Regions from separate parts of the Homo sapiens genome. Here region 2 is linked to region 1. Evidence: promoter capture Hi-C in 16 types of primary human blood cells and fetal thymus (Javierre and others, 2016). All regions are on one chromosome and are shown on one strand. Each heading gives the region's core, a stretch centred on a gene start or on the middle of the fragment in contact. The rest is flanking DNA. Distances are from core to core; before and after follow the strand shown.

The links. The method cuts DNA at HindIII sites, captures the fragments that hold promoters and counts their contacts. A CHiCAGO score of 5 or more calls a contact.
Region 2: a contact is called between the fragment with the promoter of ZBED6 here and the fragment with the promoter of GOLT1A in region 1, in 2 of 17 cell types (fetal thymus and M2 macrophages). The highest score is 6.5, in fetal thymus.

Annotation. Positions count from the first base shown.
Region 1 is chr1:204,210,192-204,216,458 of GRCh38, reverse strand. It overlaps GOLT1A (golgi transport 1A), which reads left to right and starts at 2,471. Exons shown (of 5, transcript NM_198447.2): 1 at 2,471-2,577. The coding sequence starts at 2,553. RefSeq lists an enhancer at 1,944-2,600. The HindIII fragment of the contact is 7,307 bases long and covers 2,102-6,267 here.
Region 2 is chr1:203,790,935-203,797,201 of GRCh38, reverse strand. It overlaps ZBED6 (zinc finger BED-type containing 6), which reads right to left and starts at 1,579. Exons shown (of 17, transcript NM_001395895.1): 1 at 1-1,579. ZC3H11A (zinc finger CCCH-type containing 11A) reads right to left here and starts at 1,579. Exons shown (of 18, transcript NM_001376342.1): 1 at 1,408-1,579. RefSeq lists an enhancer at 1,459-1,878. The HindIII fragment of the contact is 5,182 bases long and covers 475-5,656 here.

The sequences.
Region 1 (6,267 bases), core at 1,222-3,721:
GTGATTTCAACAGGGATGATTCTGGCCCCTAGGGGCATTTGGTTGTCTCAATCATAAGGGTGCAAAACTCTTGCTGGCATTTCGAGACTGCAATGCACAGGACAGATTTCCAAAACAAAGAATTGTCCCATATCCTGTACTACTTTCGAATGTACAACTGAACTAAACCCACTACCAGTAAAAGTTGGTCATACTTCAATTGACAGTAATACCAAAAGGTTTTGTAAGCTTTTAAAAATAAATTTCATGAACACTCAGAAAGTTAGGAGATGGTTATTATGGAGCAGAAGCTTAAAAGGAATAAAGACATTGTCTTAAAATTATTGAATAATCTACTCCATGCATTGTCTACACAAAGGATTATAAGATTTCAGCTACTATGTATTTGATTGAAAACAGTTCTGATCAGTAGGTGATACTGAATAAACGAAGAAATTGACTGAAAATATTTAACAGAGGATATGTGAGAGAAGCAAACATGGAATCAGAGACACTTGAGATGCAGAAGATCTCACTGAGTTTCCTTAATAAAAGTTTTTAGGGTTTATTTCATATTATTGCCATCCTTTATATGTTTAGTTTTTTTGGAGCCCAAGGATGCTATGTTGTCATAATTATGTGTGGAAATGTTGTGTCCTGTCTTTACAACACTGTCCCGGGTGTCCACATGCAATTGCTCTAAACCACTTTTATCTTCTTTTCTTTTCCCAATCCATCCTCTATCCCCCATTGCCCATTGGAAATATGTGATCTCTAAGGCCTTTTAAGATCCCAGAGACTGAATTTTACCTCAACGCTGATATGTTTCAAGACAGAGGTTGATGTGTCTGTGGTACTCTATGGCGACCCCATTCCATGGGAGCTATTTTGACAATACACACATACCTAAGACTGAGTTCCTTTGCATGCACATCATACTTCTATATTATCTCCACCTTGTGCTCTCTAATTTGCCTTGCTATGTTATCCCTATTTCAATTAAGATGCTTTCCCTCTCATCATATGCAAGTACGTCTGGTCTGTTATTCCTTATCTAACAGTTTTTATTCTATGTTCACTTCCTGCTACTCTTTCATTTTCTTGCATGTGTGTGATTTTTGTTTTTGCATAGAATGGCTCATCTTCTATTTCTCTTAAATTCAAACATATATTATGTGTGGGTGCAAGCAATCTGCCTATTTCATTTATGTCTTCTGGTAAGTCTTGCCTGAACATTTATATATTGAAAGACATCATGTTTTATTATAATTTATCTTTTTGTTTCTTTTTAAAAAATTATGTTAGCTTTCCTTGGTTTTGTTGTTGTTGTTTGGTTTGTTTTTTTTTGAGACAGGATCTCGCTCTGCTACCCAGGCTGGAGTGCATGGCTTGATCACAGCTCATCGCAGCCTCGACCTTCTGGGCTCAAGCAATCCTCCTACCTTAGCCTCCCCAGTAGCTGGGACTACAGGCAGGTACCACCACATCCGGCTAATTTTTTATTTTTATTATTGTAGAGACAAGGTCTCACTATGTTGCTCAGGCTGGTCTCAAACTCCTGGGCTCAAGCAATCCTCCTGCCTTGGCCTCCCAAAATGCTGGGATTACAGACATAATGCATTTTGTATGCCAGGCCTATTTGCATTTTTAAATGATGTATATAGGTAGTCTTTGAAATTCATTTCTTCATTTCTGGACACAGAAGACATTGCAAAGTGGATGTTGGCTCTCCTGGCATCAATGCCACGTCAGAACCACTGCTCTGCGATGGGAAAAAAGGATGTTAGGAACTAACTGCCTCTCTTTTTGCAGGCCCAAAGGACGAATCCATGTCTACACAGCTGGTGGGTAGACTAGAACCAGGCCTCCTAAATTGTGCAGTCCTGCCCCAACCCCAAATTCAGGGCTTTGTCTTCCATAGCTCAACATCACAGTCAGTCCAAAGCTTGGACGCCGCTTGGGGAAAGGAGGTCGAAGACCTTCACGTCTAACTTCCCCCATGGCGCTTTTGCCATTGATTTAACCCGATCTGGCTCTGCCATTAGGTCAACAACAGGCTTTGTGCTCAGTCGCTCATCGCCTCCCAGCGCCTAGCATGTGCAATAGCAGAGAGCAAAAAGCTTGACTTTCAAGATGAATTTAGTACATTCCCAAAGGGATGCGCAGATGCCAACTCTTCCCACACTATCAAACCAAGCAAGAAACTTGAGCACCCCCTAGATTCCAATGCTTCCACATACAATCTAAGTTTCGCGGAGCAGACGAGAGCCGCAGAACACCGCGAGGTGCGAGGAAAGGGTCAGGTGGGCGGTGCCTTCCCCGGGCAGGCGCGGCAGGTGGAGGGGCGGGGCATTGCCCTACCGGAAAACGGGAGGAGGGAGCTGGCGAGTAGAAGCACCTGCGTGGTGTGCGGGGGTGGAGCGGGGGCTGGAGGGAGAGTTAATGATTTGCCACAGGCTCATTTCGCAACTTAACCAAGGGTCAGCTTCCCGTGACCATGTACCAGCTGCGTCCTCTGGGCCACGCTCCACTTGCCCGCTTCCACCCGGAAAGCCCCCCAGGCTGAGTGCGGCATGATCTCCATCACCGAATGGCAGAGTAAGTGGGATGAGCGGGGCTGCAATGGGCTATCCAGGCCAGGCTCCCTGCCGGCTGGCTCTCTCTCCCAGCTGGGCTCTCTGTCACTACAAGCGTGACCTCTGGAGCCAGGGGCTGGGAGATGCTGTGCTGGCACCCTGGGGCAGCAGGCAGGGTGGGGTGTGGCTCCCTACCCTCCAGCGGGTGGGAGTTGCTCAGGGCCCACAGGTAGCTAGAGGCTGGTGCCCAGGGGGCCTGGCAGGTTCCCCATTCACACTGACCCCTTTCCCATCCCGGGTTCTTAGAACTGGGTTGCCACAAAGGTGGACTCAGGAGGCCTCTGCCCATTCAGACATCTTTCCCCACACCATCAAGGTCTCCTGTGGCCCTGGGGGCTTCTTATAAAAAACTAAACTCCACTCCCCTGACCAAACCACCATACCCTCACTCCTAAACATCCTTCCCCTTCTTTTGGGGGAAGAGGTAGGGAGGAGGTCTTGGAACAAGTCTGGGGCCATGGGAAGAACCGTGGCTCTGTGGGCTTCATTTGGGTGAGTTACTTAAAGCCTCTGAGCCTTGGTTTTTCATCTGAGAATTGGTGACAACATTCTTTTGTTCACTCAACAGATTTGTCTCTGCTGTGTGCCAAGCACTGTGTTGGATATAGAGTGTCCAACATTAAATGAAACTGACTCCCTGCTTACATTCTAGAGAGGGGAGACAGGTAATTAACAGAAAGAAGTATATAGTATATCAGAAGATGATAAGTCCTCCAGATGAAAATAAAACAAGAGGAGGCTATGGAGTTCGAGGTAGGAGGGGTCGCTATTTTATATAGAGTGGTCAGGGAAGCCTCACTGAGAAGGTGAGCCTTTATTCAGATCTTTTTTCAGAGATCTATAGGAAGTGAGGAAGCAAAGCCACGCAGCTCTCTGGAGGGGAAATGTTCAGGAAGCAGGGACAGGCAGTGCAAAGGCCCTGAGGCATTAGCATACTTGGTGTGTTTGAAGAACAACAAGGAGGTGGGTATACCTGGAGCAAAGTGAGGTGAGGGGAGAATCATAGGAGTTTAGGTCAGGGATGTCACTGAGGGGTCAGGACACTGGAGACTTATAGACCATGGTAATGACCTTGGTTTTGTGCTATGGTGTGATATGTTCTATTTCTATGTTTAAAAGATCATTCTGGGTGCTGGGTTGAGAATAGACTGTGGAGGTATGAAGGCAGCAGCAGGGAAGCCAGTTCTTTTTTTTTTTTTTTTTTTTTGAGACAGAGTCTCACTCTGTCGCTCAGGTTGGAGTACAGTGGCATGATCTCTGCTCACTGCAACCTCCACCTCCTGGGTTCAAGCGATTCTCCTGCCTCAGCCTCCTAAGTAGCTGGGGTTACGGGCACCCACCACCACACCTGGCTAATTTTTGTATTTTTAGTAGAGATGGGGTTTCTCCACGTTTACCAGGTTGGTCTCGAACTCCTGACTTCTCAAGTGATCCACCTGCCTGAGCCTCCCAAAGTGCTGGGATTACAGGCGTGAGCCACCGCGCCCAGCCAGGGAAGCCAGTCCTGAGTGTGTGAAGGTGGAGACCAAGGTGTTAGCAGGAGATTAGCGGGGCGTGGTCCATGCTGGATCTGCCTTGAGGAAAGCGTTGAGGATTTGCTGACGGTTTGGACATAGGGTGTGAGAGAAAGAGGAGTCAAGAATGCCTTGTATATTTTTTAGCCTGTGCAATGGGAAGGGTTGAGTGGGGGGAAGCAGGAATTGGGCTTTAGATGTGTTGAGTCTGTTTGTGCTGTTAGACATCCGGGTGAGATGTCAGGTAGGTGGTTGGGTATGTGAGTCTGGAGTTCCAGGTAGAGGCCTGGGCTGGAGACAGAAATGTGGGAATAATCTGCATATACATGGTTTTTAGGACTATGAGCATCCATGAGATCACCGAGGGCAGGCACAGTTTCTCACCTCCCCACTATTGACATTTTGGGGCAGGATAATTCTTTGTTGTGGGGGCCTGTCCTGTACATTATAGGATATCAGCAGCATCCCTGGCCTCTATCCACTACATGCCAGTAGCACCCCCACTCCAAGTTGTGACAATAAAAAATGTCTTCAAACATTGCCAGATGTCCCCTGGGAAACAAATTTCCATCCCGCACCCCGCTTCCCCACCCACAATCCCCTCAGCCCAGTTGAGAATCATGGACCTGGCGAATAAAAATATAGAGAGAGGTGGGTTGGGTCCTCAACCCAGTGGCACGCTGACACTTTGTTAAACCAATTAGCCTGCAAGTAATATACTCTTACCAAATATGATAAGCAAGTCCTGTGAGAGAGAGAAATGAGGGATTTAGGTCAGGGAAGAGAGTGGACCAGCTTTCCCTGAGCAACTGACATTTCAGCTGAGACCTGAATGATGAGGATGCATTGTCAAGTAACAAGTGAGAGGCAGGGTGTTGCAGACCAGGAAACTGCATGTACGAAGGCCCTGAGTCAAGAGGGCTCACATGGAAGCCATGGAGAACAGTGTGGTTGGAGCATGGCAGGCAATAGGGACAGTGGCAGGAGATGAGGTGGGCAGGCAGGCCTGGGCCCCACCAGGCAGGGCCTGTGAGCTGTGGTGTGGATGAGAAGGCTCTGCTGCAGTCTAATCTCAGTGGGCAGCCGTGAAGGAGTCTAGGCAGTATGCTAACATGATCAGGTTGTATGTTTTGCAAGACCTTTGAGCGCCGTGTGGAGAAGGACTGGGAGGGTGCAGGAATAAAGCAGGAGGCCAAATGGGGGCTGCTGCATACGTCCAGGAAAGAGATGATCGTGGCCGGGAATTAGGTGTTAAGAATGGAGAGAAATGGACAGCTTTCAACATGTATCTTGGAAGAAGAAAAGAAAACTTAGCTGTGGATTTCATGGGGGAGGGGTGGGCTTCTGCGTTAAGTGGTGGGGTGGGCGGTGGTGACATGTTTACTCATTTGAGGACAACCAAGGGAGGCACAAGTTGAAGGAGGGAAGATAAATAGACCAGTTTGGGATTGAAGATTAGCCCAGTTCAAGATGGCTGAGAGAAAACCAGGCAGATATGCCAAGTAAGCAGCTAGATATGAGTTTCAAAGCCCAAAGAGAGGCATGGACTAGAAAGAGAGACATCAGTGTCATCAGCATACAAGGGAGGTTTGAAGACGTGAGAGGCTGGGTGTGGTGGCTCATGCCTGTAATCTCAGCACTTTGGGAGGATCGCTTGAGGCCAGGAGTTCAAGACCAGCCTGAGCACATTGCAAAACCCCTGTCTCAACAACAAAAAAATTTAAACCAATTTTAAAAAATTAGCTGGGCATGGTGGCCAAGTGCCTGTAGTCCCAGCTACTCAGGAGACTGAGGTAGAAGGATCCCTTGAGCCCAGGAGTTCAAGGCTGCAGTGAGCTATGATTGTGCCATTGCACTCCAGCCTAGGCAACAGAGCGAGATCCCAGCTTTAAGACAAAATTAAAAACAAAAATAAACACATGGGAATACATGTGGAAATAGAATGAGAAGAGAAGTGAGCTTGGGCACAAGCCCTGTGCAATTCAAATCCCAAGAAGAAGAGAGAGAAGTAGGAGCTGGCAGAGGAGACAGAGAAAGGGCAGTTAGAGCAGTAGGAAGAAAATCAAGAACGTGTTGTGCACAAACCAAGAGAAAGGCTGTTTCAACACGGCAGTGGTCAGTTCTAACAGATGATGGTT
Region 2 (6,267 bases), core at 330-2,829, 420 kb after region 1:
GCAGCTAGAAGCCAGGTCTTCCAAATCCCAGATCCATGTTCTTCCTGCTTCATCAAGAACTATATCTACTTGAAATGCCTTCACCTTGTAAAATACATATTTTTATGATGCCTCATGATAGCGACATCAATTTCCCTTAATTCTGAAATTAACTATTTTCAGGAAATCTCATTTAAACAAAAACATAGTGCATCATTCAACATTCATCATTTAGGACTGTGATTTGCCAATACAACCCAAAAAGTCAATTCTGGAAAGCCAACACAGACTCCGCATACTGGTCACAGCAAATGCTAGTTGAGCCCTTTCAGTTCTAACTAAAAGTAATACAACCTTTTAAAATGTGAGTGGCTGGAAAAAAATGCTTTGAGAAAAAAATTTTAAAACAAGGTTAAATGCTGCATTTTCAAAGTACTGTTTGTATTAAGAGTTAATTCAAGTTTAGTTTTCAGATATTTTTAGACTTGAGAAGCTTTTACAGCCTGTAAGTAACTCACAAGTTGTACGCTATAGAGATAGCAAAAAGTGAAATATGAACTTTAAACCACTTCCATTTTTCGATTGATCCCTCCCCTTCCCCCAATACCTACATACATTTACCCTAAAAAGCATCGCTATCTCTAGTTCCACAGCCTCTTTCTCAAGGTCCAGAACCAAGGCCTGGAAGATGTCAACAATATAGGCCTTCCCCATAGGAATCCGCACCGATTATGGGAGTTTAGGGGTGTTCTTCATTACGGTTTCACCAGTCCTACAAGGAGAACGGAAGTGTCCCTGTTGCTCTTGACTCCGACGCTGAGGGCCAGGGGTGGGAGTGTAATGAGAGTGGGGAATGGGTGTAGGATACCGGAATAAGGTCGGTGGCTTTCTGTATGTGGAGTTTGAGACAAGCTCCAAAGTACCGGGACCCTGGAGAGGAATGAGAGTAGGTAAATTCAGCGCCCGGCACTCAGTCTGATTGATTTAGGCAGTGAGGGTCCGCTCAACTAGAGAAACTGTTGCCCCGAAGAAAGCAATCTAGTGTCAGTTCTCTCTTCGGGATTCGGGGGAACAGTCGGTTTTCGGGGCTGCTCCGGGCTCCTCGAGATTAGCGAACACCGGATGTGGGGGAGGGGAGGAAGGTTGGCTGGGAAAGGAGCAGGCGCCGTGGGGGTGGGGTGAACGGGGTGGGGGTGGGGAGGATGGGAAAAGTGAGCGGGAGCCTGGGGCTCCCAGCCAGCCCCGGCGAGGGCCGCGACCGGGAGGTGGGGGGGAGGGGTCGTTACGGCGAAGCTGAAGGATCCGCTCTGACTTCCCGGGATAGGCCGCGACCCAGGGGCGAGGGGAGGCCGCTGCCACTCCCCTCGCCCTCTCCCCCACCTCCCCGGCCCCAAGCCACCCGGGAATCAAAAAAACGGGTCTAGTTACCAGAGAACAGAAACTTTACCGAACCGATGACACTATCCCCGACTCCCGCTTGCTGCCACGTCTTTCTTCTTGCTTGGCCGCTGCCGTCCGTCGTCCTCCCAGCAGCAGCAGCACTAGCAGAAAACCAAGACTGCCAGCGTCAAAGATGGCGCCTGGCTACAGGCTCCGCTCTAAGGCCCGGCCGGTAAAAGTGCCAGCACGACGCAGGGCGCGAGGATTCTGGAAGATGTAGTTCCTCTATGAGGCGATGCCTAAGATGGCTGCTCCGGGTCACAGGGTCACGTGACGGGGGAGGCGCTGGGTCGGGGAGTCCCTTCCCTTCAGAGGAATGCCTCGAAGCCGGCTTTCATAACGTTTTGTTTTTGTTTTTAAATCAAATGAGGTAATAAGCGGGAGGGCCGCAGGAACTGAGACTGCCATTCAGTAAGCGCTCAATTTATTCTTACCAAAGTGTTTGCTTAATGAGTAAATCTCCCAAACCATGTATACATTTAATTTAGAAATAAACTGTACTTTTCCTAAGCATGCAATGTAGAATGATTTGTTAGTTTATTTTTTACTTGAAGAAGTGAGATTGGGCTTTGGGGGGGTGTTTCTTTGATTTCTTAAAGCAAATTTGTGTATTGGAAAAGTAATTCATGCTCGTGACAAAATTCAGGAGAGTTAGTTGGAGGTCGCAATCAGCAGTCTCATCCCTGCTTCATTATTAACATTGTCCCTTATTTTCCCTTTTGAATGTTTTTACTTTTTCCCCCGGTTATAAAAGTAATACACGTGGCCGGTGCGGTGGCTCACGACTGTAATTCCAGCACTTTGGGAGGCCTCGGCAGGCGGATCACAAGGTCAAGAGATCGAGACCATCCTGGTCAACATGGTGAAACCTCATCTTTACCAAAAATACAAAAATTAGCTAGGCGTGGTGGCACGCGCCTGTAGTCCCAACTACTCGAGAGGCTGAGGCAGGAGAATCGCTTGAATCTGGGAGGCAGAGGTTGCATTGAGCTGACATCGCACCACTGCACTCCAACCTGGCGACAGAGTAAGACTCCATCTCAAAAAAAAAAAAAAAAAAAAAAAGTAAAAAACTTAATACACGTAAGTTTTTTTAGAAACAATACAGAAATATAGAGAGTAGAAAGTTAAAATCTCTATTAATCTCATTCTTGAGAAATAGCTCTCATTAACTTACCATATATCCTTTCTGGCTTTTACACTGAAAATATACTTAAATATATTACACATATAATAGGAGCCCAAGGTCCCCCTGGGGTAGTGGCTCAGCAGAACTCTAATTAGGTGGCAACATTTTACCTAACTTGGGTAAAGGATATAGTTGTGCTACTAAGAAAGGAAACACTTGATGATAAAGCAGATGGGACTTCAGGCACCTTTTATTTCCTCGTGTGCTTGTTCTTCCAGCTGCCGGGTTGGTGATGTGCGAGTCCCAGGCAGCCCAAGACTAGGAATTTATCAGAGCAGAGGGGTCCTGAGCCTCCTCATATCTGGGCTTTTATCTCCTTTCAAAGTAAGAACCACAACTTTAGAATCTTAGCTCCAATCTCTGCCTTACGTGACAGTGCTCTGGCATTGCCATGTCAACAGACCTAATAAGCAAGTTCCTGGTAGCCAATTTCTTTTTTTCTTTCTTTTTCTTTTTCTTTTGTTTTGGTCTTCATTTTTTTGGTCTGTGTGACTCTTACTGGTAACCAATTTCTGTCTGTGCCACGACACCTAGGGTTTTTAAAATTTACCAGAGGGCTCTCCACATAGCTTAAGGGTTTTCCAACCTAGGACTCTCCAAGATGCAGTCCTGGCCTGACTAGTGTGCTATATAGAGTTTATAGTTATATTTCAGTAAACCTAAAGTATCATTGATTGTAAGATACACTTTTATTTTACAAGCCTCTAAGTGGAAGAAAAAAACCAACAACTGCCAATTAAACTGACAGGCCGGCCGGGCAGGGTGGCTCACACCTCTAATCCCAGCACTTTGGGAGGTTGTGGCGGGCGAACCACAAGGTCAGGAGTTCGAGACTAGCCTGGCCAACATGGTGAAATCCTGCCTCTACTAAAAATACAAAAATTAGCCCAGCACAGTGGCACGCATCTGTAATCCCAGCTACTTGGAGGCTGAGGCAAGAGAATTGCTTGATCCTGGGAGGTGGAGGTTGCAGTGAGCCAAGATCACGCCATTGCACTCCAGCCTAGGTGACAGGCTAGGAAAGGATGTACATCTTAGAATGAATGAAAATATGAACAGGCTAAAACTATACATACCGTTTTGCAATTTGCTTTTTTCACTTTACAATATATCTTGAATATCTTTTAATGGTCATCAGCACTTAGAGGCCTACCATATTCTTTTTTTTTTTTTTTTTTTTGAGACAGAGTTTCACTCTTGTTTCCCAAGCTGGAGTGCAATGGCACAATCTCGGCTCAATGCAACCTCCGCCTTCCGGGTTCAAGCTATTCTTCTGCCTCAGCCTCCTGAGTAGCTGGGATTACAGGAATGCACCACCACGCCAGGCTAATTTTGTATTTTTAGTAGAGACGGGGTTTCTCCATGTTGGCCAGGCTGGTCTGGAACTCCTAACCTCAGGTAATCTGCCCACGTCGGCCTACATTCTTTTTAATAGCTCCCATCCCGCTCTCTGTAAGCCTCTTTTTACAATTTATTTCACCAGTCCCTTATTGATGGAAACAATCATGTTTCATTTTCCATTAGTATCTCTCAAGGGGGGGAAAGAAAAAATAATAGGGTAATAAGGACATTGAAGAGGGCAAGCTGGGCAGGGGCTCACGCCTGTAATCCCAGCACTTTGGGAGGCCCAGGCCAGCAGATCACTAGAGGTCAGGAGGTGAAGACCAGCCTGGCCAACGTGGCGAAAGCCTGTCTCTACTAAAAATACAAAATTAGCCGGGTGTGGTGGCACCCGCCTGTAATCCCAGCTACTCAGGAGTCTGAGGCAGGGAAGCACCTGAACCCAGGAGGCAGAGTTTGCAGTGAGCCAAGATTGCACCACTGCACTCCAACCTGGGCAACAGAGAGAGAACCTGTCTCACAGAAAAAAAAAAAAAAAAAGGCAGGAGAAAAAGCCTAAGGCTGTTGCAGAGAGAGAAAACTAGTTGGGAAACCCTCTAAGAGTCAGGAGAGTGCACATGCCAACCTTCCCCACCCCCCCATATATACACACAGAATTCTCAGGGGTGGGGCTGGGCTTGCCCTTTGTATGTTATAAGTGGGGGTGAAGTATCTAAACCAAGGACACAATGCCAGATTCCCCCTATTCATACTGCCCTTCAAATTCTAAATGGATTTTAAACATATCTAGACCTCTTCAGTGAATGACAAAACCTTTTGGGACGTTCAGTGTGTTTTTGCTTTGAGAGCAAAAGTTTGGGGAAAAAATGCAAAATTATTGAGACAAAATTAGGTTCAAGAGAATCTTTATTTAGACTAGAAAAGGAAATCACAACAAATTACACATTAAAAAAAAAAAAAAAACTGTGGCTGGGCACAGTGCCTCATGCCAGTAATCCCAGCACTATGGGAGGCCCAGGCCAGTGGATCACTTGAGCCCAGGAATTCAAGACCAGCCTGGGCAACATGGTAAAACCCCATGTCTACTAAAAATACAAAAATTAGCTGGATGTTGTGGCGTGCACCTGTAATCCCAGCTATTTGGGAGGCTGAGGCAGCAGAATCCCTTGAACCCGGGAGGTGGAGATTACAGTGAGCTGAGATTGTGTACCACTGCACTTCAGCCTGGGCGACAGAGTGAGACTCAGTCAAAAAAAAAAAAAAGAAAGAAAAAAAAATATATATGTATGATTATTGTCAAATTTGGTACAGCTTCTATCAAGTTTCTTAGATATATATAAGCACTAAGACTTTATTGAATTATTTAATACCCTCTTGGCCAGGCAAGAGCTACCATTTTTACTAAATCTATTATTTATTGCTATGTAAAAAATCACCCAAAAATGTAGTGGCTTAAGGAACAAACATTTGTTATTTCACGTGTCTGTGGGTCAGGAATTCAGAAGCAGTTTGGCTGGATGGTTCTGACTCAGAGTCTCTAATGAGTTTGCAATCAAGTTGGCCAGGACTGCAGTCATCTGAAGGCTTGACTGGGGCTAGAAGATACATTTCCAAGTCAACTCATATAGCTGTTAACAGGAGATGAGACCTCAGTTTCTCACTCTGAGGGCCTCTCCGTAGGGCTGCTCAGGATATAGGCAACAAGCTTCTCCCAGAGTGAATGACGAGAGAAATAGTAAAGATAGACACTATAAGCTGCAATGCCTTTTATGACCTAGCCTTGGGCATTACATACCACCATTTCTTCTGTATTCTATTGATCACACAGATTAACACTGGCATTATGTGGGAGGGGACTAAGCAAGGGCATGGTAACAGGAGCCAGGGATCATTGGGGTCTTTCTTGGAGGCTTGCTACCATGCCAGCTGTTAGTGATAACTGACTCGTCCATTTAAAATTTTAGATATGGCCAGGCACAGCGACTCATGCCTGTAATCCCAGCACTTTGGGAGGCCGAGGCGGGCAGATCACCTGATCAGGAGTTCAAGGCCAGCCTGCCAAACATGGTGAAACCCCGTCTCTACTAAAAATACAAAAATTAGCCGGGCGTAGTGGCATGCGCCTGTAATCCCAGCTACCTAGGAGGCTGAGGCAGGAGAATCGCTGGAACCCGGGAGGCAGAGGTTGCAGTGAGCCAAGATCATGCCACTGCACTCCAGCCTGAGCAACAGAGCAAGACTCCATCTGAAAAAAAAAAATAAAAAAAAAATAAAATTTTAGATGTGTGGCCAGGTGCAGTGGCTCACACCTGTATTCC